Regions from separate parts of the Homo sapiens genome. Here all the other regions are linked to region 6. Evidence: promoter capture Hi-C in 16 types of primary human blood cells and fetal thymus (Javierre and others, 2016). All regions are on one chromosome and are shown on one strand. The core of a region is centred on a gene start or on the middle of the fragment in contact, and the rest is flanking DNA. Distances in the headings are between cores, read along the strand shown. Region 1 holds the start of PUM2 (pumilio RNA binding family member 2). Region 2 has its middle 3.3 kb from the start of LINC00954. Region 3 overlaps WDR35 (WD repeat domain 35). Region 4 holds the start of MATN3 (matrilin 3). Region 5 overlaps LAPTM4A (lysosomal protein transmembrane 4 alpha). Region 6 holds the start of RDH14 (retinol dehydrogenase 14). Region 7 holds the start of WDR35 (WD repeat domain 35).

Region 1 (3,256 bases), core at 74-2,573, 1.8 Mb before region 6:
GGTAAGTTATTTATATTTGGAGTCGGGGTAAGAGGAAGAGACAAGGATGGTTCTCAGAGGTGTAATTTGGGGAATGAATAGGTGGTGACACTGCCAATTACAGAGACAGTACAAGAGTGGGGGGTAGGGGATGGGTGTGACTTCAGTTTTTAACATGCTTGGTGACAAGAAAATTCAAGTGAAAATATCTAGAAGCCTGAAATATGAGCCTAAGGTAGGGGCTTGGGATGGATTTCAATGTCAGACATTTTTCAGTAATAGTTAAAAACCGAAGAGCCCATGTGTATTCAACAGGCACTTGCGGGCACAGTGTGAAACAAAACACAAGGTCCTTGCCCTCGTGGAGCTCACAGTCGCCTAGGGAAGACATATATTAAGCAAACTATACGGGAGGCCCTGAATATTTACGAAGTGCAGCATGTCAGGAGAGCCAGGAGCTGTGCAAACAAACCATCAAGAACAAATCGGACACGGTGCCTGTTACAGCTGTGTGACCTGGAGCCGGTTAGGTTAGAATCCTGGAATCACCACTGCTTTGCATGGGGGTCCAGGACAGCAAGGCAGATTTGGAGTTTCCAACTAGCCTGTAAACGGGGAAGGAGAGAGCGCTTAGTACGCGAGAAAAAGAAACAGCCAACGAGTGAGAATCACTGGCCCAGCTGGAGAACGACCTGAGTTTCCTTTGTGTGCACCGGGACCAAGCACTGGGGGCCGACAATTTGCTGAGAGCTGGCTCCACCTGCCTGGGGTGCAACCACGAGAAGAGTGACAGCCCTCTCGCAGGGTACAATCTTCCACCCCCAGATGCATCTCCCTCGTCTGGTTGTGGGGAGGTACAGAGTGAAAGTTAAAGGCCTGAATTAACGTCCGGCTCTTGTGGGCGCCAGCACTCTGGAAGCGAAATGCCAGGAGTACCCCACGGTGGGCGGCGCGGGCGCAGACACCCGCACACCCAGTTGGGGGAAAACAGTGAGCAACCGGGTAGGAAGCCGAGGGTAAGAAGATTCAGAAGGCGAGGCCCCACGCGGGAAGACAGTCGAACACAGCGTTTGGCAACAGTACGCCTGCGCTCTCCGAGCCCGCCGCGGCGGAGCCCAGGAGGGAAGCGCGAGCCCGCAAGGTGAGGGCGGGGGAGGGCACGCCGGAGAGGCGGCCAAACACGTGAGAGCGCGGAGAACGTGCGCACGCGCAGGGCGCCCCCGGCCCGCGCGGCGGCAGCGCGGGAGCAGGGACGCAAGGCATTAAAAGGAGCCGCGCCTTGGTGAGCGCTCCCCCTCCCCTTTCTCCCGGGGTGCACTGCGCGCGCCCGGTGGGCGGGGGGGAGGGGAGGGCAGGCGGCGGTGGCAGCCATGTTGTTGTGAGTCTCTGTGTCTCACCCTCGGTACTTCGGTGGTTCGGAGGAGGAGGGGGAGGAGAAGGAGGAGGTGGGGTGGGGGGGGAGGGTGGTAGGTGGAGAAAGAAGACATTGCCGCCACCGAAGGCGGAGGAGGGGGAGGACCGCCAAGAGCGACGCCGCCGTGTGCCCAACGGTCGGTGTCCCCGGCTGAGGCAGCGCGGCCGCAGCAGCCCTGTAAGTCAGTCCGCGTTCGCTCTTTCTCCGGTCCTTTGGCGCCGTCGAGGATGGCTCCCCAGGCTTTGTGCGGCGGCCTCGGCGGGAGCCGATCGCCAGCGGGAGGGCGGATAGGGCCTGCTGAGTGCCCGGGCCGGTGCGGCCTGGGGCCCGCTCGCACAATGCAGGGGGAGGGGTGCCGGAAGGGGGTGTGCGCGTGCGGGGGAGGGGGCGCCGCGCCGGCCGCTTTCCCGCTTCCTTCCCTCTGCGGGGCCGCCGCCTCGGGGGCGTGGGGCGCCGACCCGGTTCTCCCTCCGATTCGGCGCGCTGGAGGTTAGAGACCGAGCTGTCGGCCCTAGGGTTCGGAAAGAGGGGAGAGGCCGGGTGGCCCCAGAGAAGCATGCGGATTGCAAGTGGGTGAAGAGGAAGGAGTGGGTTTATGAAAACAAGTGTGGGCATTTTCAAAGGCCCGAGTGTGTCCGGGAAAAGCTTGCCGTGGACAGATGTGGGTATGAAGCAGTGACTTGGATTCGCCTTGTTTAGGTTATAGGAACGGATTTCGATATTCAGAAAAATATGTAAATTAAAACCAAAGACAAGATTAGCGGCTTCTACTATTTGAGCAGTAGTTTTGTATCTGAATTGGGTCAGGTTTTGGGGAAAATGTTTAAAGTTTCATGCCCAAACACGTGTAAAAGTTAGTGTTGTTTCTGAAAACACAGCCAGAGAAAACCTACTTAACTTAGCTTTTTATTCTAACATACGTAAACTTTTGAAGAGAGGAATGTATTGCCAGCATATTAGGTGCAATAAGACATCATGTTAGGACTTAGTACTTTGAGATTTTTACTTGTTGAGAAAACGGGGCAGATGTTTTGGTGAAGGAAAACATGAGAAAAATGCTTGTAAACGGTGAAGAGAAATGTAATACCTGTAAAGGTACTGTATGTCAAGAAAACAATTTTAATAAAGGGAGTTACCGAAGGATTTTAAAAGCTTGTTTAATGGTTAGATTTCGTGTTTAACAGGTGACTCTTCACCATGTGACCTGGAGTATTGGAAGATGACTTAAGGAATCCTGTAAATAAAAAAAAAAAAACAAAAATGAGTATTTTCAACTTGTTTCTCTTCCTAGCCTCCTTTTAAACAATGATTTACTTCATTTGCTCAATCATTATGAATAAAAATGATGGCATTTTCCGTGCTGCAAGAATTTCTTTAAAATTCCGATTTTTGGTGAAATTGCATTGTGTAGAATTTTCTTGGTGTGCATGAGGGCAGTTTTTGTATGCAGAAAAGGTTTACGATAATCTTAAAAATAAAATTTTATTTCAGAAACCTGGTTCTTGAGGATTTAAGTCCAGTTTTTAAATTTTGTTTACAGGTCTAGCTATTTTGAGTTATAATTGCCAGTAACTTACGCATTTTCCAGCAATTTAAGCTGTGTTTAACACATGCTTTCCTTAATTTGAGTCCAAAGTTCTCTTAGGTGTTTCAGCATTTAGCAAGATTTCAACTTTTTAAAAGAGCCTAAATTAATTACTGACATTTACTTTGCTCTTACAAAGCTGTCACTTTAGAATAAATTCTCAGGCATTACAAATACTGTATATAAATTACCAAATAATACTTGGATTTTGTTTCTCTCAAGCATTCCATACTTGTTTATGAATCTTTTTTTCTTGTTTGAGACAGGGTCTGGTTCTG
Region 2 (3,381 bases), core at 700-3,199, 1.3 Mb before region 6:
TTTTGCAGGTGGGAAGGACATGAGGGCCCAGGCTTATTCAGGGTCATTACTAAGTCCAGAGTTGAGATCCTAACCCAGGGTTCTTTGTCTCCTAGGCCATGAGACCAGGTGGAACATTTTCCCCCAGATGCCTCTCTGGTGTGCAACTGAGACTTCCACGGGGAACTCTGTAGCTGTAGGAATGGAGTGGGTGAAGTGAGCTCACACACTGATGAGCTCAGACCGTGAGTGCAAGGACCTAGGCTCTAGTTCTGGCTCTGCCACTTATTAACCTTGTGCTCTCAAATGAGTTATGTGTGGGCCTCCTAACAGTCTGAATAGCATCCTGTTGCTGCAGCTCCATGGTCTTTGCTTAGTGCCCTTGAGTTGTTGAGATGTGCAGACTTGTTTTACTCCATGGATGCTTTACAAGTGTTGCCTCTTTAGGGGTAGTGGCTACATGAGCAGAAATGGCACCATACTTTCATTTCTATTTGGTGGCTACTTCTCTTGATGCTTTAACTGTTACTCATACCCCTAAATCAGCTAGAGGGATTTGGGACACACCGCCCTATAACATGAAGCCTGTAGAAACTGAGTACTTGGACAGGACAAGAAAAGACAGGGATTTCTTTTCTTTTTTGAGACACAGTCTCACTCTGTTGCCAAGGCTGGAGTGCAGTGGCGCAATCTTGGCTCACTGCAGCCTCAGCCTCCCAGGTTCCAGTGATTCTCCTGCCTCAGCCTCCTGAGTAGCTGGGATTACAGGTGGGCACCACCATGCCCGGCTGATTTTTGTATTTATAGTAGAGTCGGGGTTTCACTGTGTTGGCCAGGGTGGTCTTGAACTCCTAATCTCAGGTGATCCACCCACCTCTGCCTCTCAAAGTGCTGGAATTACAGGTGTGAGCCACTGTGCCCGGCCAAGACATGGATTTCTAAGTGCTGTATAGCTGGGTATGGTCTCATTTAAGGATTCTGCAAAAAGATCTAGTGCTAGCTTGTCCACTGATAGACACTAGCATATGCAACTACTGAACACTTGAAGTGTCACCAGTGTTACTGAGGAACTGAATTTCTCATTTGAATTCATTTAAAATAAAAAATACTGGCTGGGCACAGTGGCTCACGCCTACAATCTCAGCATTTTGGAAGGCCCAGGTGGGAGGATCACTTGAGCCCAGGAGTTCAAGACCAACCTGGACAACATCGTGAGACCTCATGTCTACAAAAAAATAGAAAAAAAAAAAAAAAAAGCTGGGGATGGTGGTGCATGCCTGTGGTCCCAGCTACTCAGGAAGCTGAGGTGGGAGGATTGCTTGAGCCTGGGAAGTCAAGGCTGCAGTGAGCTATGATCTCACCACTGCACTCCAGCCTGGGTGACAGAGCAAGACCCTATCTCCAAAAACAACAACAACAACAACAAACCCAAAGCCAACAATTCAGTTACTAAAAAATTTTAAAGTACGGCAGTGGAGTGGGTGAAATGAACTCACACTTCATGTGAACACTTTGTTTGGAACAACAAATTCACATTTAAAGTATGTGAATCTGCCACTGCAAAGTTTATGAAATCTAAATACAGATCAAGTATTTTCAATGAAAATTTAGCACCCAAACTGAGATGGGCTGTTAAGTGTTAAATATATACCAGATTTTTAAGAGTTAGTATAAATAAAAGAATGTAAAGTACCTCTAACATTTTCATATTGTGTCAAGATGATAATATTTTAGATATACTGGGTCAAATAAAATAATGTTAAACAATTTCACCTGCTTCTACCACTTACTCGCTCTGTGGTTTTGGGCAATTCCCCTAAACTCTCCAGGCCTCTGTTTCTGCTTATCTAAAGTCACTGAGTGGAAAGGCCCTGCAGGCTCATCTCAGGCTGTGGCTGAGGGAGGATGAGGACACTTAGTGGGAGGGGTAGTTCTGCAGCCATACTGTAAGGCTGGGTCTTGGGAGGGGTCACAGCCCCTAGTACAACAGGAATGCCCACCCCCACCGCTAGCATGAGGGTACATCTTCCCAGGGCTTGAAAGTAAGATTTACTTGACACACTCTGCCTAAGAATTGGCTCTGAGCTTGGTTTGTTGGTTCTGTCGAAGGTAGTAACAACCGCATCCTTCTAGCTTCTTGAGCCCTTCCTTCCTCTCCACTGAGCTTCTGAGCTGGGTGGGCCTAGGACCCTCCCTGTCCTCTGTCCCTGGGCTCCAGGGCCCTGCCTTGGACCTGCCTGAGTAAGGGAACAAGTAGAGGGGCCTGCCCTGCTCTTCTCTGGGCTTTCCCAGTCTTCTCTAGGCGGCTGGAGGGGTGGGGATGAGGGCAACAGGGGACAGCAGCTTCTAGGATGGATACTTGGGGTTCCAGGCTGGATAATTGTGCTGGTGGTGGGGGGATCGGTGTGAACTTGACCCTGAGGCAGTCAGCAAGGGGCCCTGGGCAGCTTGCACGTGTATGTTTTGGTGTGGGGGTGTGATCAGGTCTGTGTGAGAGGAAGGGCAGAGGCTTTGCAGAACAGCAGAGGCAGATGTCTCTGATTTTGATCACTTAGTTCCACATACCTGGGGCTGCCTGAGATACGGTGCAGCTGTTTTCTGTCGTGCTGATATGCAGACAAAGCTAAAGAAGAGCCCGCGACCACTGAGCACCTGTTACGGGAAAGGTACCACGTGGGGAGCTTTAAGCACCTGCCATCATCGAATCTCCGTGGTAACCCAAGAGAGGAAAGGCCCCATAGAGAATTTCCCGAGGCTGCAGAGCTGGGCGGGGCAGAGATCGGATTTGAACCCAGCTGTCTGATATCAAGGCTTGGGGTCTTGAAGACAAATGGCTTACCCAGGGTGGGGTGGCTCACGCCTGTAATCCCAGCACTTTGGGAGGCCCCAGGCGGGCGGATCACTTGAGGCCAGGAGTTTGTGACCAGTCTGGCCAACATGATGAAACCCCATCTCTACTAAAAATACAAAAATTAGCTTGGTGTGGTGGTAGGTACTTGTAATCCCAGCTACTCGGGAGGCTGAGGCAGGAGAATCGCTGGAATCTGGGAGGCAGAGGCTGCAGTGAGCCGAGATCGCGCCATTGCACTCCAGTGTGGGCGACAGAGTGAGACTCCATCTCAAAAAACAAAACAAAACAAAACCACACACACACAAAACACAAACAAACAAAAAACAAGTTGCTCACCCTTAGCTGCACGTGTCCTCAGAAGCGGTTCACTATAACCCCAGTGGCCCTGGCTTCAGGGATGGGAATCGGGGAGGGGCCAGTCCTGGAGCAGAGCCTGGCCTGGAGCCCAGGTGGCGCTGAGTTCGCTCTGCTCCTGACGCCAGTCCCTGGACCCTGCGGTGTGTGTTCCCAGGGCGGGCAGGAAGGCTCTTAGAGGGTGAGCCAGGCTGTCC
Region 3 (3,631 bases), core at 705-3,204, 1.4 Mb before region 6:
GCATGAATGCTGTGAAGAATTTGTGAGATCTTTAGAAAAACAAAGATTTCGAAAGCCGTTGTTGGAGGATCATGACCTTGAACAACTTTTAATAATGTTTTGTTTTAGGCAATCGTATTTGGGGAAAAGACCTGAAGGGTATACAGCTATCCCATGTAACATGGTCTGCGGACAGTAAAGTCTTACTTTTTGGAATGGCAAATGGGGAAATACACATTTACGATAATCAAGGAAATTTTATGGTAAGTAAGTGTATGCATCAGTCTTGTTTATACAATTTTATATGATTATCGTACATATCATTCATGTTTGTATATACATTTATTTTTTATGGCGGTTTGTGTAATTAAAGTCTTCAATTCAGATTTTTTTTCTTTTTCCCAATCGTCTAAATTTTGTTTTAATTAAATAAAATTTTGGTTTTCTCAAGGCAAATTAGTGCAACAAGTTCGAGTGTAGCTTTTAGTTCCAATTTTTTTTGGTAGGTAGAAAGGACGAGGTGTCAGTGCATTTAAGCAGAGAGATAATGAGTAGGGCGATGTGCAGTTTAAGTTTTATAGGTGTCTTCTGGTGTCTGAAGCCAAAGTTTACATGTAGATACCACAGGGTATTTTTGTAGCAAGCTACCAATGGTTGTTTGTAAAAAGAATGACAGACTTAAATGGTAAGTGAGAAAAATCAATCCCTGGAAAGAAGGTAAAATAGAATAGGATCAGGCAGCATAATCTGGAGAAAAATTCTGGCTTTGCAAGGTTTAGCTATCATAGATGTATGATTACTGGTGGGGCAGTTTTGTTTTTTAGCAAGGGTTAGGACATTAAGTAAATCCACTCACTGGTGGAAGTAAAATAATGAACTTTTATGTCATTTTGCTGTTTTCAAAGTACTTTTATATACTTGTTGTTTGAGTCTCATAAAAACTCAGTGTTTTTTAATCCTCATTTTTTACATGTGGGGAAAATGGACATTTAGGTGATTTGTCCATGGCCTGTATACCAGTAAGTGATTAAGCTTTAATTTGCCACCTGATTTTTAGACTGTATTTTTCAGTGTTCTTTCTACAATACTCTATTGAGTATTGTCTCTATACTGCTGTGTTTTAAAATGTAAAATATTAAACCTAACCAATTTTATTTAGATAAAAATGAAACTGAGTTGTTTGGTGAATGTCACTGGAGCTATCAGCATTGCTGGAATTCATTGGTACCATGGCACAGAAGGCTACGTGGAGCCTGATTGCCCTTGCCTTGCTGTTTGCTTTGATAATGGAAGATGCCAAATAATGAGACATGAGAATGACCAAAGTAAGGAATTTTTCTGTTTAAAAAATTTTTTTAATTTCTATTTTTTTTTTTTTCTTTTTGAGATGGAGTCTCACTCTGTCGCCCAGGCTGGAGTGCAGTGGCACGATCTTGGCTCACGGCAACTTCTGCCTCCCGGGTTCAAGCGAATTTCCTGCCTCAGCCTCCCGAGTAGCTGGGACTACAGGGCGTGCCACTATGCCTGGCTAATTTTTTATATTTTTCGTAGAGACGGGGTTTCACCCTGTTAGCCAGGATAGTCTCTATCTCCTGACCTCGTGATCCACCTGCCTCAGCCTCCCAAAGTGCTGGGATTACAGGCGTGAGCCACTGTGCCCGGCCTCAATTTCTAATTTTTAACTTTTTTTTTTTTGCGACAGGGTCTTGCTCTGTTGCCGAGGCTGGAGTGCAGTGGTGCGTTCTTGGCTCACTGCAGCCTTGGCCTCCCAGGCTCAAGGTCTCAGCCTCCTGAGGAGCTGGGACCACAGGTGTGCACCAACTCCTCCAGCTAATTTTTGTATTTTTCGTAGAGACAGGGTTTCACCATGTTGCCCAGGCCGATCTTGAACTCCTGGACTCAAGTGATCCGCCCGCCTCAGCCTCCTAAAGTGTTGGGATTATAGGCGTGAGCCGTTGTACCCAGCCCTGTTTTTTTAAAAATGTGGAAAGTTTTAAAAATGTTTAAAAGTTGTTCTTAAGATTATAAAGTTCTCTAGGCTACGTATTTTCCCACAGTGACCTCATTTTTCTCTTTCTGACTAGATCCCGTTTTGATTGACACTGGCATGTACGTAGTAGGCATCCAGTGGAACCACATGGGCAGCGTGTTAGCTGTGGCAGGCTTCCAGAAGGCAGCCATGCAGGACAAAGATGTGAACATTGTGCAGTTTTACACTCCGTTTGGTGAGGTAAATGCATTCAAATTGATCTTCTTTCTTTCTATTTAAATGTGCAGTGAGTAAGGTAGAGGAAAAAATAACAAAGGAAACGGTGTAAACTTATCACATTTTCTTTTAGGGACATTTCATCTTCATAGTATAAATCTTTGTTGTATTTTATCATGGAATTTTATAATCTTATAGTTTTATAATTATAAAATAAAAATTACAATTTTATACATTCAGAAAACCAGAAGTTTAACATAAGAAATCACCATGGAGTAGTTATTTTGAATATTTTCTCTGTGATCTGAATATGTGTCTCTTTTCATAGCCAGCTTTTGAGTAGTATTTAGTATAATATAGTTGTTTCAGATTAATTTTTCTGATTTTTAATGTGATATTTTAAATGTGTTTAGATGTTAAACATACATATCTGTCTGTCCTTCCTTCAAACTTCTAATACTTTTAATTTGTTGCAAAGTAATCAGTTATTTGAAGAAAATTTAATAATTAATCTTAGGTGATGCTACATTAAAATAAAAGCATTGTTTTCATAAATGTACATATGAGTATTATCCTTCTCAATAGTATTTTTAATAAATTTAATTTTAAAAGAATTTTCAGAAGTAGCATTGGAAAATGTCAAGTAGGAGAATTAATATATTGTGAATTTTAAAGAATTTAGAAAGTGAGAGCTTATTAATAACTAAGCTTAATACGTTTTTTGAATGTCTTATTTTCTAACCCAGTACTATATTTTGTCCCTTTTGAATACCCTGTTGGCTTTTATAAATTCGCCATAGACTACAGTGATATATATTTTTGGCTGCATAAAAGCCTATACCAGTTGTTTTAATGTTATTTTTATATATTTTAATAATTTCTTTTAGGGCAAGAAATGATGTCTTCTGATGCTTTTGAATCAGTATCTCAAAGTTACCCAGTAGAATATACTGTAGAACGTAGATGCTCTCTATACATTGTCAAACGACAATATTTCTCGTAGATGTAAAAGTGAAGGAAAAAAAAAAGCATAGTTTTCAAGGTTCCTAAATAATTAAAAATCTGCATTCTAATTATTTCTATATTTATAGCCTCCTTCTTAATTCTTGTTCTTTATTGGTTATTTTTGTTGGTTGCCATTTACTTATTTATCATAATGTTTTATCTGCTTATTTTTGTTAGTTCAGCCTTCCCCAGGTAGAAAAACATGGGTTCTAAAGTCTGTTTGTTTGTCTTGCAAAACAATGTGTTAAGTGTTAAACGGAAAACTGTAAGTGGGGTTTGGTTTAGCTGTAACTAAAAGTATCTAGCATAGTTCCTCAGGTCATAGTAGTCAGTATTTTCTGAGTGAGTGAATATATGGGGAATTATTTGGATCTGTGTTATTGTTAAGGTAGGAAAGATAACCTGGATGGAAGTTATCTAACAATTTAAACTTAATGATTT
Region 4 (3,387 bases), core at 631-3,130, 1.5 Mb before region 6:
TGGAGCTGGGCCAACCAGCTTCTCCTGTCCTTGGACATCAGCATTCCTGGTTCTTGGGTCTCTGGACTCAGATTGGGCCTTATGTCATTGGCTCTCCTGCTCTTGGGCCTTCAGGCTTGGACTGGATTACACCACTGGCTTTCCTGGGCCCCCAGCTTGCAGACAGCAGACTGTGGGACTTCTCAGCCTTCATAATCGCATGAACCAATCCCTCATAATCTCAATTACTCCCCCCACCCTCTCTCTATATGTATGTGTATATAAAATTTATTGGTTTTGTTTCTCTCAAGAACCCTGACTAATGTAGGGTTCAAAGGCTTTGGGGATCATTCTAAAAGCAAGACGAAAGACAAATGTCCACCAGAGCTTGCAAATACTGTATTTATCAATCCCTCCTCTTCTTGGCATAGTTTCTTTCAAACTTCTTAGTGTCCTCTTCCCATTATTACAAACTTCTCGTTTCTTCTAAGGTCCTTCTAAATTGGTGAGTTCTCAGTGGGAGTTGAGTGACCTTTTCCCTCAGTGTGACTATCACTGCCCAATGTCATTGATACATTATACAACTCCCCATCCCCACTTCCCCTCAGCTCCTGTTAACCACCATTCTTTCTGTCTCTATGAATTTGACTACTCTAGATTCCCCATGTAAATGGAATCATACAGTATTTGTCTTTTTGTGACTAGCTTATTTCACTTAACATAATACTCTCAAGGTTCATCCATTTTGTAGCATCTGCCAAAATTTCCTCCCTTTTAAGGCTGAACAGTATTCCATTGTACGTAGATACTGCATTTTGCTTTTCCATTCACACAAAGAGAGACACTTGGGTTGTTTCCGCCTCTTGGCTATTGTGTATAATGCTGCTACCAGCATGGGGTACAAATATGAGAAGTGAGGTTTAGGATCGTGTGAGGAGGATCACTTGTAGAGGGAAAATAGTGAAATAGGACGACCAGATAGGCTCTGTTGGAACTCGCGCCCATTGTTTTAAGACGCAGCTCAAATGTCACCTGGTTTTAGAAGTCTTCCTGGTCTCCGCAGGCAGTCAGTATCTCTTTCCTAAATCCACCACATTCCCGTAGACAGACACCACATTTATGCAAATCTCCTTCTCACAGACAGTGAGTTCCATGGGGGTCCCCTGGCAGCCTCCAGCCCTGTACCATGCTAACTCTTCCGGAGAGGAAATGGGGCCTCGGGAGAGCCTTTGAAGCCTGTGTTGGTACAGGCTGTCCTTCCAGCTAACGGGGCTCTCTGGGGAATGTATGTTTGACTTTCTATTCCCGGTAATATAAGTTCAAATGTTTGTGGATATTTGAAGCTCGGATGAAAGCGTTTCTATTCATGCCCCTAGAATCTGTGAGGCCTTTTCTTTCTTTTTTTTTTTTTAAACAAGAGCCCACAGCAAAACTTGGGTTACTTGGCTGAGGAAAGGAATGTAGAGCTAGGAGCAGGGTTTCATCTTCAGCCCCAGTCGGGCAAACCAGTGGCAGAAGGGAAAGCAGAGCCCAGGGGTCCCCATCCCGTACCTGGGGCGCAGGCCCCGCTGGGGTGGGAGGGAGAGTGGAGGGCCGGGCAGGCTGCAGCCGCGGATGGCTGCCCCCCCTGCCCCGGTGTTACTGGGAGGACGGAGGTTGCGACAGCAGCCGAGCCCACCCAGTTGCAGCCGGCTCGGGGCTTAGGGCAGGGGCGGGAGGTGACCACCGCGCCGCTGGCCGCCTCGCCCAGACATTCCGTTTCTGCCGCTGGAATGCGCGGACAAGGCTCCTTGTTGGCCTTGGGCGGGGTTCGCCGGGCCGGCCTGGCGCTCGAGGCCCCGGGGCGGGGCGGGGCCCGAGGCCGCGGGACCTTTAAATCCGAGCCTCGCGTGGGCTCCTGGCCCCCGACGGACACCACCAGGCCCACGGAGCCCACCATGCCGCGCCCGGCCCCCGCGCGCCGCCTCCCGGGACTCCTCCTGCTGCTCTGGCCGCTGCTGCTGCTGCCCTCCGCCGCCCCCGACCCCGTGGCCCGCCCGGGCTTCCGGAGGCTGGAGACCCGAGGTCCCGGGGGCAGCCCTGGACGCCGCCCCTCTCCTGCGGCTCCCGACGGCGCGCCCGCTTCCGGGACCAGCGAGCCTGGCCGCGCCCGCGGTGCAGGTACAGGCGGGCGGCGGGAGGGACGCGTGAGCATCGAACGAGGAGAAGCCCAGGGCATCCACCAAGCGCGCTTCATCCCGGCCTCAGGCCGACCGTGGTGCGGGGGAAAGAGGCCCCTCCCGGATGAATCCTGTGGGGGAAACTGAGGTCCAGAGAAGGGGAGGGAGATGCCCAATATCACTCATGTGTCCAGGCTAGAGATGTGGGTCTCCTGAAGCTCTCACTCCCCTGTGATTCGGCCAGGAGCACAGGGCAGCTGGGGAGCGCAGGGGCTGCTGCCCAGCGGCTGCTGCTAAGCTCCGTCCCAGTCCTGACCTCTCCATTCAGTGAGCAAACCCTTCCTGAGACTCTGCTGTTAGTTCTCTTGGAATCTCTCCATCTCCATCCAATATCAGGGCGTGATCTTTCCTCCCCTCCCACAGTCCTCAGGCTGCCTCAGACTGGAAGGTAAGGGATGCGGGTGTGAGACCAGGAGGAGATCCGAGGAGCCGTAGGATACCCCAGGATCAAGACACTCTGGGTCTTTGGCGAACAATTCTATTTCTCTTTTTGGTCAGCAATTGATTCCTGAAGCAGAGCAAAGCTCATAGTGCAGCGAAGCGGGCAGGTCGTCTGACACAGCCCCTGACAGCACATGAAGGGAAACTGAGGCATATCAAGTTGAAGGGACTCTGTGAATCAGTATCAGAGGCCACAATAAAATTCAGGGCTCCGAAATCCCAAGCAAGGTCTCTTTCCACTGCCCCAGCCTACCAACCTCTTAATATGGTTTACATAAGATTGTATCTTCATTTCCAAAAAGCGCAGCTTCAGTCTTGCTAAAAAGAGTCTGTGCCAGGCCATTTCTGGGTATGCAGTCTCATTTGGCCAGCCACGCTGCATGCCTCAGGCTGATTTCAATTGTCTATCCCCTTCTGCATCTTTCTGGATAAGCTGAGAAGGAGCTCAAGGGACTCTTTCCTGACTCAAATACTCAGTCCCCGTATTTGAAGTGGCAGATTTGAAATGGCAAAAGCATTGCTGCTAAGGCAGGAGGTACCGGGGTCCACAGGGCTAGATTCAGCTGGTGGCTGGTTGCTCCAGGCCGGGAATTGAGGGAAAGCCTTTCTTCTGGAAGTTAATCTTACTCTAGTCCTGACCTGCCTCCCTCTGGGATGGGACTGGAAGAGGAAGGAGAGATTCAGCACCAGGTGGCCATGTCCCCCTAAGCTTTACTGGTCTTTCATTACCTAGAGTCCGAACCTGATC
Region 5 (3,570 bases), core at 200-2,699, 1.5 Mb before region 6:
AAAACCTCCCATTTATTCATCACCCAGCTTCAACCATTAACAACATTTTGCCAAGTCCAGATAATTTAATGGTTAGCTCACATGTTTTCGTGGTAAAACTTTCCTTTTTTTTTTTTTTTGAGACGGAGTCTCGCTCTGTCGCCCAGGCCGGACTGCGGACCGCAGTGGCGCAATCTCGGCTCACTGCAAGCTCCGCTTCCCGGGTTCACGCCATTCTCCTGCCTCAGCCTCCCGAGTAGCTGGGACTACAGGCGCCCGCCACCGCGCCCGGCTAATTTTTTGTATTTTTAGTAGAGACGGGGTTTCACCTTGTTAGCCAGGATGGTCTCGATCTCCTGACCTCATGATCCACCCGCCTCGGCCTCCCAAAGTGCTGGGATTACAGGCGTGAGCCACCGCGCCCGGCCTTTTTTTTTTTTTTTCTTTTTTGAGACAGAGTCTTGCTCTGTCACCAGGCTGGAGTGCAGTGGTGCGATCTCGGCTCACTGCAACCTCCGCCTCCCAGGTTCAAGCGATTCCTCTGCCCCAGCCTCCCAAATAGCTGGGACTACAGGCACCCGCCACCATGTCGGGCTAATTTTTTGTATTTTAGTAGAGACGGGGTTTCACCGTGTTGGCCGGGATTGTCTCGATCTCCTGACCTCATGATCTGCCTGCCTTGGCCTCCCAAAGTGCTGGGATTACAGGCGTGAGCTACCATGCCCAGCCAAGCTTTCTTTACTTCCTAGCCAGGGGGATCTGTTTTTCTCACGGTGCACCTGCAAAAGTTTCTGGATCCTTCTTGTATGTACTTATTAAATAGTACTCAGTACACATTGGTAGGATTGTCCTTTTCTCTTATTTTTCTCTCTACAGCAAGATGTTCTCCTGGAGGGAAGAGGGTGATGTCTTTATAAGGGCAGTGGCTCACGCCTGTAATCCCAGCATTTTGGGAGGCCAAGGCAGGTGGATTGCCCAGGAGTTCGAGACCAGCCTGAGCAACATGACGAAACCCCCTCTCTACCAAAAAAAAATATATATTATATTATATATATATTTATATATTATATTATATATATATTTATATAATATATATTTATATATAGATATATAATATATAAATATATATAAAACATATAAAAATATATATACACACACACATACATACATATATATATTAGCGGGGCATGGTGTGGTGGTGCATGCCTGTAGTCCCAGCTACAGGGGAGGCTGAAGTGGGAGGATCACTTGAGCCGGGGAGGCAGAGGTTGCAGTGAGCCTAGATCGCAGTAACTACTCTCCATCCTGGGTGACAGAATGAGACCCTGTCTCAAAATAAAATGTGTGTGATGGCTAACTTATTAATTAAAACATTTGAGGTGTTCATTACACATTTGTTGAATGAATGTCTCCTCCAAAAAATATTGTGAATACTCAGTTGTATCTGCATGTAACAGTAAACAACAACAAAAAACTTTTTTTTTTTAAATTATACTGTAAGTTCTAGGGTACATGTCCACAGCGTGCAGGTTTGTTGCATAGGTATACATGTGCCATGTTGGTTTGCTGCACCCATCAACTCATCATTTACATTAGTTATTTCTCCTAATGCTATCCCTCCCCCAGCCCGCCACCCGCTGACAGGCCCTGGTGTAGGTGTGTGATGTTCCCCACCCTGTGTCCAAGTGTTCTCATTGTTCAGTTCCCACCTATGAGTGAGAACATGCGGTGTTTGGTTTTCTGTCCTTGTAATAGTTTGCTGAGAATGATGGTTTCCAGCTTCATCCATGTCCCTGCAAAGGACATGAACTAATCCTTTTTTATGGCTAAAAAACGTTTTAAAGATAGTCAATTTTGATCTTTATCAGATAACAGGCTTTGCTTAGTTCTGTAGATTGACCCTCCTGTGGGTGCTTTCTCTGCATGGGAAGCCCTTATCTGGATGCCTCCTTAAACCAGACACACTGTTTTAATTATTATCTCAGTAGATACTGGCTCTGGGCAAATTACTGTGGGAAAACTGAAAAATGATTTTTTTTTTAAAGTCTCCAGAGAATCTTCTGGAATAGGTGTGGCAGTGAAAGAAGAAAACAAAGAATTCCTCTCTTCAGGCCCTGTGCTTCCATGGATCTGATACAGTTATTTTGTAACAAGTCAAATCTAACAGATTTCTTATTGTACACACTTACATAAGATGTAGAAGCTTTCAAAAACAATGCACACCACCTGATTTGACTGATTAAATTTACAGTACTGTTAACACATTGAGTGGTGAATCCGCAGCCCATGCTGCTAAAATATTGCTGCATTCTATACCTCTCCATATTGCCAAGTTTAGAAGTTAATAATTTAATCTTTTTTTTTTTTTTTTAAAGAGATGGGGTCTTGCTATGTTGCCTGTGCTGGTGTGCAATGGCATGATTATAGCACACTGCAGCCTTGAACTGGGCTCAAACAATCCTCCCACCTCAGGCACCTGACCAGCTGGGACTACAGGCACACACCACTGTCCCCAGCTTAATCATTCTTTTTAAATTACATTTTTATTAACTTTCTTTCCTGAATACAGTGAAAGGAAAAAGTGAATCAGGAATAAATATTTGTAATAGTTAGTACATAGTTGGATATTTTCAGAGAAATTTTGTATTGTAAGATTACAGTTAATTTTATGTATTTTTTGAAAAGCTAAACATGTAATTTAGAAATATCAACTTTAATCAGAGATAAGTTGCCAGGGCTTACATGTGAGCACAAGGTAGGCGTTCGTTGGTGAATATCTTTAAGATCAAAGGATGCCAGGAGCGGTGGCTCGTGCCTGTCATCCTAGCACTTTAGGAGGCCAATGCAGTAGGATCACTTGAGGCCAGGAGTTCAAGACCAGACTGGACAACATAGTGAGACTCCATCTCTACAAAAAAAATTTTTTTAAGTCACAAGGATGGGTTTTCCAGTGTAATACTTTAAGATGTAAGTTGGGGTTCTAATGAAATGATGTGATCTAATGGAATATAATTAACTCAAAGAAGATTTGGAAAAAGCTTTTAATGAAGTAGCATTGAAATTTATTTCACTGTTTCTTGGTCCTTCTGATTGGCCCTACGATTTATTTTGTTTAATATTTAGTGGTATGACCCACAGTGAAATTAAACTTGAAGTGTCTCTAGTACTAAAAGAAGATAATAGTGGATGAGCGTGTGACTTATCCATGGAAGAGAAGAAAAGTGAAGAGTTCTTTTGTTTTTTAAGAGACAGACTTAGTATTGTTGCCTAGGCTGGTCTCCAGAGCTCAGGCGATCCTTCCCACCTCAGCCTCCCAAGTAGCTGGGACTATAGGTGTGAGATTTTTAGAAATCCTTCATGTAATAAAAATATTTAAGAAGGGAAAATAGAACTCCTAAATGTTTTTGGCATGTCATTCCCTTCATTTAGTAATTGGGTTTGCATGCTTTTCTTGACAAAGGAATTTCTGTACCGCAGAGAGCTTTTTCACTGTGACTATGCTGTGTTTAGCAAAGAAGAGTTTGCCTAATTGATTTCAAACTGATTTCCATACACAGAACATATAACGTTTTAGTAGATATATCTGATAGT
Region 6 (3,285 bases), core at 6-2,505:
TATTAGTTGCATGTTACATCCTTCCCAAATGTAAGGGAGTGGAAGATGGATTATCACAATTATTGGGGAGTTTGTCTCAAACGACACAAGCTGTGGTTCTTTTTCCTTGTCTGGAGAACCTGCAATGGGTGGAGGGTGGGAAGTGGGAGATCACAGTTCCAGAAAGTAAGCACCCTGAGAGCAGAAATGGTGTCCCATTTCTCTGTGGCTCTAACAGGGAACAGGCAGGGCCAGGCACATATTGGATGGAGAGGCAGACGAACGAATGAGTCTTTAAAAGTAGCTTGGTCTACAGCTATGAAGTTTGTAGCTTGAAGAAGGGTCCCTGTGACACTAACCCTGATATTAATGAGGCATTTTACAGTGAGCCAAGCACTTTGCCTTCCATCGTTGTGTGTAATAGTCCTATGGAGAGGGCAGGGAGGCATTTGTAAATGGCCTGCTCAGAAGCCTATATTTACAATAAGTCCAAGCTTTTCCCACTGTACCTCTGCCAGTGTGAAGATCATTTGAAGATGGCTTTCTTTTTTTTAATAGGGACCAATGACATAATGTCTTGTTCAGTGGTTCTCAAAGTGTGGTTCCCAGATCTGCAGCAGCAGCAGCACCTGGAAACTTGTTAAAAGTGCAAATTATCAGGCCCCATCCTGTACCTATTGAATTAGAAACTCTAATACTGGGGCCCTGGTTTTTTGTTTTCGTTTTGTTTCATTCCCCCACCCCGAACCCCCACCCCAAGTCCTCCAGGTGATTCTGATGTGCATTTAAGTTTGAGAACTACTCGACCATTCTATTTCCAACTGATTCATGTTGCTTAATTCTTTGTCTCATCTATGAAAAACAGTCCTACCTCAGACTTCAGCTTGTCAGGGCCCATTCCTCAGAAGGTGAATTGAACTGAATTTACAAGTCCCAAGAGCCCTCAAAGGAAAACACACGAAATGCCCTGAGGAGTGGCATTTGTAACAGGGCCTGTACAGAGATCTGTGATTCAAAGTACTCATCAGACATTCCCATGGGGAAGTCCGCCACTACTCTGGGATTTCAATACGTATGAACCCCAGCACCCTGAACACTGTGCTGGTTGCCCAGCCTCCATCATTAGGCTGGGAGGAGCTTCCACGGAGGGCGCAGGACCCAGGGCGCTGAACTCTCACAACCAATCAGGCGACCCCCCCAGAGGGAAACTACAAGTCCCAGCATGCCCCACGCGCACCGTCAGGGGCCGACCCGCCGCGCCCCAGCGTTCTCCGCGTACAGGTGGTCTCTTGGGTTCCGGTAAGGCGGCGGCTGCGGAACTCCCGTGGAGGGGCCGGTGGGCCCTCGGGCCTGACGATGGCAGTGGCCACTGCGGCGGCAGTACTGGCCGCTCTGGGCGGGGCGCTGTGGCTGGCGGCCCGCCGGTTCGTGGGGCCCAGGGTCCAGCGGCTGCGCAGAGGCGGGGACCCCGGCCTCATGCACGGGAAGACTGTGCTGATCACCGGGGCGAACAGCGGCCTGGGCCGCGCCACGGCCGCCGAGCTACTGCGCCTGGGAGCGCGGGTGATCATGGGCTGCCGGGACCGCGCGCGCGCCGAGGAGGCGGCGGGTCAGCTCCGCCGCGAGCTCCGCCAGGCCGCGGAGTGCGGCCCAGAGCCTGGCGTCAGCGGGGTGGGCGAGCTCATAGTCCGGGAGCTGGACCTCGCCTCGCTGCGCTCGGTGCGCGCCTTCTGCCAGGAAATGCTCCAGGTGTGGGCCTCGGGGGGCCGGGCTGGTGGGGAGGGCCTGGGCACGGTGTGGGAGGGGACTGCGGGCTGGGGCTGAGCCGCGAGGGACCGCCCTGGGGTTCAGGGTGTCACCTTGGGAACCGCTGAGGCTGAGAGGAGTCCAAAAAGCCACTTTGAGGCGGCCGGGAAGCTGCAGGGTTGAGAGGGAAAGAGAAACTAACTGGGAGGGCTGCCTTCTGTCCTCTAAGGATGTCGAAAAAGAAATGGGCCCAAGAGAAAAATAAATAAACCAGTTTCTGAACGTTTCATTTCGTTACGTGAGGACCGCCCCGAAGTAGATCCATGGCCTCTGAATTGTTTTTCCTGTGTCAGAAGTGAATTTGCACCAAGCTGTGTCTTCAGAACCCCTGAGCACTGGGGGAAGTTGCTAGCTAAGGACCTCATATCAGTCCTTTAAAAAAAGTTCTCCTTCCCCCGGCCTCTGCCCCTTTTCTGCTGGGGTAAGGAGCTCGCTGCCACCAGTAAACTCAGCACCATCCTTAACGGGACTGTGGCCTGATTTCCAAGTAGAATACATTTTGGAACCCAGTGGTCATGCTCCATACAGAGACAGGAATAAAAATAACACCCAGCATTATTGAAGATCTGTATGCCAGGAGCTGTGCCAAGCATTTCAGATTTTCCTTTTTGTCTTAAATGAAAATGAAGTGTCCTTGCCTATAACTGTCATTGAAGCTACACAGTAACCCTGTGGAGTAGGCATTATTATCATCCCTGTTTTACAACGCGAGGAAACTGAGGCATAGGAAGGCTAAGAAACTTGCTTGTGGTCTGTCTCCAGAACACTTGCTTTTAACCCTTGTTCTTTCCTCCTGCTGCCTGGCAGTGAGGTGTGAGGATTTCTTTGTGCAAATGGTAAGTAATTCCACATAAGTGGATGTTCTCCGTTGAGATTGAGGTAGAAGAGTTTCTTGCAGGGATAACTGGCATTCAGAGGGCATTTGTTCAGAAGAGTGAAATTTAAAATTAGCTGGGACAAGAAAGGTGCCTATATGACGTAGAGTCTCTTGAGTCTAGAGAAGAGGTTCCCAAATTTTCTCAGTAATTTTTTCATGATGCCCTTAGGCCAGAAATATTTCCCAGTTCATTTATTTAGAAAGTTTATTTTGCCAAGGTTAAGGATGCACCCGTGGCAGAACCTCAGGCGGTCCTGAGGACATGTGCCCAAGGTGGTCGGGGCACAGCTTGGTTTTATACATTTTAGGGAGACATGAGACATCAATCACATATGTAAGGTATACATTGGTTCTCCTGGAAAAGTGGGACAACTCGAAGTGGGGGCTTCCAGGTCATAGGTAGATGGGAGACAAAAGGTTGCATTCTTTTGGGTCTTTGATTAGCCTTTTACTGAATACAATTTACATGTGCAGGAGGGATAGAGGAATAATCACTTATGTCTTAGACTGGCTCAGTGAGTCTGCATTTTCACATAAACAATACGGCAGAGTCAGCAATCAGATAAGCATTTATCTCAGGTGAGCAGAAGGATGACTTTAGAGTTCTGTCTTTTGTTTGGCAC
Region 7 (3,167 bases), core at 104-2,603, 1.4 Mb before region 6:
AACAGACACACAAACAATGGAAAGCAAACATTATCTGAATGGGATTGGGTTAAGTTTGGAAAGAATTCCTCATGGAGACTGATTTGTGCTGGTTTGGCTAGGCACAACTGGCCTGTTAAGAGGGTAGGACCATATATAAAGTGGCTTGGGAAGCAGAGCCGGATGGAATGTTGCCCTGCAGAAAGCATATTGGCTTACTTGAGGTGGGGGCTCCCTAGTAAAAACATTTAGGATTGAGGGAAGATCTGATTTTGGATGGAGTTTAGATTTGCTAGGAAAGGCACTAGGGACTATTGTCAATTCTATAATAGATTGTGCTGGGTGAGACAAATCACCCAGGTCAAAGGATTGGAGGATTTTTATTTTATTTTTGTCTGAGATGGGAAAAGACTCCAAGTGGGGAAATTAACTACTGATGCATAAATTACATGCTAGATTATGGTAAAAGGGAAAACCAGAAATAAAAACATAGGTGAGACCAAATAATTTCATGAGTGGTTCTACTTGGATTTCTGCCCTATGCCTTAGACTTTGAGGCTTTGTAACTCTCAAGCATTCCAAAAGGACAAAGGAGAATGAAGAAAGAAGGTAAGAAAAAGAAGAGAATATGTAACAGTCGACTCTAGACGAGAAAACACCAAACGCTCAAATATTTGTAAAATGGGAGGCCATGCCCCAATAGCAATTGTACGCTGTAATTACCCAACGTTTACAGAAATTCCTTTAAAAGGACCCTCGGGGTTGCGGTAATAATTAAACTGTTAAAAAATATCAAAACAAGCGGAATAAACAAAATCTTCTATTCCTAAATTGCTCTAGAGGTTCTCCAATCCCCAAAGACACAGAGAAGGGTTGTAAGATCTCAGTACGCACATTTGCACTTTCATCTGGCCAGTGGCGCCAGCCTATCAAATACAGTAAATGGCTTTTCCCTTTCAAGAATGTTGGAACTTTGGAACTTACAAAATACTAAATAATTTGCCCTTATTCGAACGGGCGCCTCTCCTCTTAGGTTTATAGTAATGCCACCTGAGGCGCGGCTCCATAGCGATCATCACAGGTGTGGCGGGAGGGAGGGCGGCAGTGACCACGAGACGGGGCGCAGAGGGCGAGCGCACGGCTGGCAGTGACAGGTCGCGACCCAGCTCCTTGCGGAGAGCAGAAAGGCCCAGACGCCAGGGAACAGGACTAGCCCAGCTACCGCCTCGCGCCTCGCGCCCTGCGCCCACAAACCCATCGACGTCCGCGCAGGCGCACTACGCCGGTGCCCGGTGCGAGGGCGTCACCGGAAGTGTCCCGCGGCGCCCCGGATGCGACCGGGCAACAGCGGTTGCCAGGGCGACGGGAGCTTTCCGGAGCTGCTGGTACTCCCGATTGGAGACGTAGAACCGTTACTTGTCGAGGGCCTTAGCGGCCGCCGTGACCCTCTCGGGGATCCCACGATGTTCTTCTACCTGAGCAAGAAAGTGAGTTTCCTGGGGGGCGTCCTCGTTTCTCCGCCATTCCCGCAGCCTGCGGCGATTCCCGCTGCCTTCCCGAGAAGCCAGGCTCCTTCACCCGGTCCTGGTCGTGGCTTCGCCATTCCGCAGCCATCCTTCCCGCCGGGTCCAGCCTCCGACCTCTTCCTGCGGTTCCCAGAGCCTCAGTCTTTGGCCGAGCTTGCTGCCCTCTCGCAGCACTCTCCCATTCCTGCCCCTGGCTAGGTCCTTTTGGGTGGCTTGAGGATAAGTCGCCACGTGCTACCCTATGTTTCCTCCTCCACTTGTTGCTGATCCACGTGATTTAAACTCTTTGGATCACCACGAGCCATTGGGCAAGAGAAAAGAAATAACAATAGGATAGCCTAAGTTGTAGGTAAAAAGGAAGAGGGACTGGTGGTATGGATTTATACCCTCTCCCCGTCCTCCCTTTAAAAAATCCATCCGGTGAGACTCTGGCGTTGGCTTCCTCCGCAGTCACTATCCTTCTCTTTTGTGCACTTCTTTCCCTCTTTCCCAAATGCTAGAGCCCGGGTCAGTTCAGGGGACCATGCCCATTTTCACAACAGCTCATTTTTTTTCTGCAAGGCCGTTCGTTTTTCTTCTTGGAAGATTTTCTTCAGCTTTCATCTCCTGCAGACTTACTTCCCAGCTCCTTCGTGAAAAGTTGCTAGTGCGGCTGTGGTTGCTTTTTCAGATTTCCATTCCCAATAACGTGAAGCTGCAGTGTGTATCCTGGAACAAGGAACAAGGGTTCATAGCATGCGGTGGTGAAGATGGATTACTGAAAGTTTTGAAATTAGAGACGCAGACAGGTAAATGAATGCAAGCCCACATGTTTGGTAGTAAATTGGCTAATGTTATTTGTTCAGTGCGGTCTACTCATGTTATCTGTCAATATGCAGTTCTGATTATTTTAAAGGGAAAACTACCAAAACATTTTATGGTGTTTTTCTGGAGTATATTTGCAATAAAGTTCAGAGAATGTTGAATGTAAACATCGGATGGTTTTTGCTGAGTTATTAATGGAAAATGAAAAATAATGAAGAATGAAAATAAGTCACTGTGTTATGCTATGTCTAATTATTGTACTATATTATTAGGAGTCTAAAAGAAATCCTGTGAGTCAACATTTCACTAAGAAAATCTGGCAGATTGTTTACAGGTCTGTGTCATCCTTTCTGCTTATCAGATGCATTAATGGTTATTCACCTAGTGTCCAAGAACAGAAAATGGGATACGTTTTACATTTCTATTAGTAGGTCTCTTGTCTTTGCTGCTTGATTTCTTTCTTTATCTAGTTCTCTGGAATCACAGCAAACAGCTTCCCACTTCTTAGCCCCCCTAGATTGAAGACCTAGATAAGGTAATTGGAGTTAAATCTCAGCTCTTCCACAAGACTACTGAATGACTTTCAACAAGTTAGCTGAGGATCTTACTACTTTAGTTTAGTCTTCCATAAAATGAAAATGTAGGGGGTTAAACTGCATTACATTTTTGGATTCCTTACAACATAGCTTCTCAAACTGTATTAGGTATAAGAATCACTGGAAGAGGTTGTTAAGATGGATTTCATGCTCTACCCCCACACAATAGACCCGGGATGGGGCCTGAGAATTTCCATTTCTAGTGAAGCTGAGTTGCTGGTCCTCAGACCGCACTTTGAATAGCATTACCTTACAACTTTGA

Evidence for each region. The method cuts DNA at HindIII sites, captures the fragments that hold promoters and counts their contacts. A CHiCAGO score of 5 or more calls a contact.
Region 1: a contact is called between the fragment with the promoter of PUM2 here and the fragment with the promoter of RDH14 in region 6, in 8 of 17 cell types (activated CD4 T cells, naive CD4 T cells, total CD4 T cells and 5 more). The highest score is 15.0, in activated CD4 T cells.
Region 2: a fragment that was not itself captured here is called in contact with the fragment with the promoter of RDH14 in region 6 in 12 of 17 cell types (total CD8 T cells, non-activated CD4 T cells, fetal thymus and 9 more); the score reaches 18.6 in total CD8 T cells.
Region 3: a contact is called between a fragment that was not itself captured here and the fragment with the promoter of RDH14 in region 6, in 4 of 17 cell types (total CD4 T cells, total CD8 T cells, naive CD8 T cells and 1 more). The highest score is 12.5, in total CD4 T cells.
Region 4: a contact is called between the fragment with the promoter of MATN3 here and the fragment with the promoter of RDH14 in region 6, in 9 of 17 cell types (naive CD4 T cells, activated CD4 T cells, total CD8 T cells and 6 more). The highest score is 20.9, in naive CD4 T cells.
Region 5: a fragment that was not itself captured here is called in contact with the fragment with the promoter of RDH14 in region 6 in 1 of 17 cell types (total CD8 T cells); the score reaches 8.8 in total CD8 T cells.
Region 7: a contact is called between the fragment with the promoter of WDR35 here and the fragment with the promoter of RDH14 in region 6, in 5 of 17 cell types (non-activated CD4 T cells, total CD8 T cells, total CD4 T cells and 2 more). The highest score is 13.8, in non-activated CD4 T cells.

What each region holds. Positions count from the first base shown.
Region 1 is chr2:20,348,911-20,352,166 of GRCh38, reverse strand. It overlaps PUM2 (pumilio RNA binding family member 2), which reads left to right and starts at 1,323. Exons shown (of 21, transcript NM_015317.5): 1 at 1,323-1,570. RefSeq lists enhancers at 1-593, 801-890, 594-1,225, 1,226-1,855 and a silencer at 1,051-1,940. The HindIII fragment of the contact is 4,637 bases long and covers 1-2,040 here.
Region 2 is chr2:19,863,833-19,867,213 of GRCh38, reverse strand. No RefSeq gene overlaps it. Among named protein-coding and RNA genes, the nearest start is that of LINC00954, 3.3 kb to the left of the region's middle. RefSeq lists an enhancer at 3,203-3,381. The HindIII fragment of the contact is 8,711 bases long and covers 1-3,381 here.
Region 3 is chr2:19,972,141-19,975,771 of GRCh38, reverse strand. WDR35 (WD repeat domain 35) reads left to right here. Exons shown (of 27, transcript NM_020779.4): 6 at 109-242; 7 at 1,139-1,304; 8 at 2,064-2,209. Among named protein-coding and RNA genes, the nearest start is that of WDR35, 16 kb to the left of the region's middle. The HindIII fragment of the contact is 1,882 bases long and covers 1,014-2,895 here.
Region 4 is chr2:20,011,161-20,014,547 of GRCh38, reverse strand. MATN3 (matrilin 3) reads left to right here and starts at 1,880. Exons shown (of 8, transcript NM_002381.5): 1 at 1,880-2,139. The coding sequence starts at 1,917. RefSeq lists an enhancer at 2,164-2,776. The HindIII fragment of the contact is 3,809 bases long and covers 1-3,350 here.
Region 5 is chr2:20,044,246-20,047,815 of GRCh38, reverse strand. The region is part of intron 1 of LAPTM4A (lysosomal protein transmembrane 4 alpha); the gene reads left to right. Among named protein-coding and RNA genes, the nearest start is that of LAPTM4A, 5.6 kb to the left of the region's middle. The HindIII fragment of the contact is 1,471 bases long and covers 714-2,184 here.
Region 6 is chr2:18,558,623-18,561,907 of GRCh38, reverse strand. It overlaps RDH14 (retinol dehydrogenase 14), which reads left to right and starts at 1,255. Exons shown (of 2, transcript NM_020905.4): 1 at 1,255-1,728. The coding sequence starts at 1,336. The region is part of intron 10 of NT5C1B-RDH14 (NT5C1B-RDH14 readthrough); the gene reads left to right. It overlaps LOC105373456 (a long non-coding RNA gene), which reads right to left and starts at 1,732. Exons shown (of 6, transcript XR_007086234.1): 1 at 1,217-1,732. RefSeq lists enhancers at 846-1,065, 1,076-1,125, 1,186-1,235, 2,046-2,095 and a silencer at 1,326-1,835. The HindIII fragment of the contact is 4,929 bases long and covers 476-3,285 here.
Region 7 is chr2:19,988,291-19,991,457 of GRCh38, reverse strand. It overlaps WDR35 (WD repeat domain 35), which reads left to right and starts at 1,353. Exons shown (of 27, transcript NM_020779.4): 1 at 1,353-1,466; 2 at 2,176-2,293. The coding sequence starts at 1,443. It overlaps WDR35-DT (WDR35 divergent transcript), which reads right to left and starts at 1,254. Exons shown (of 3, transcript NR_110235.1): 1 at 964-1,254. RefSeq lists a silencer at 1,133-1,212 and enhancers at 1,373-1,422, 1,053-1,556, 1,573-1,622. The HindIII fragment of the contact is 12,234 bases long and covers 1-3,167 here.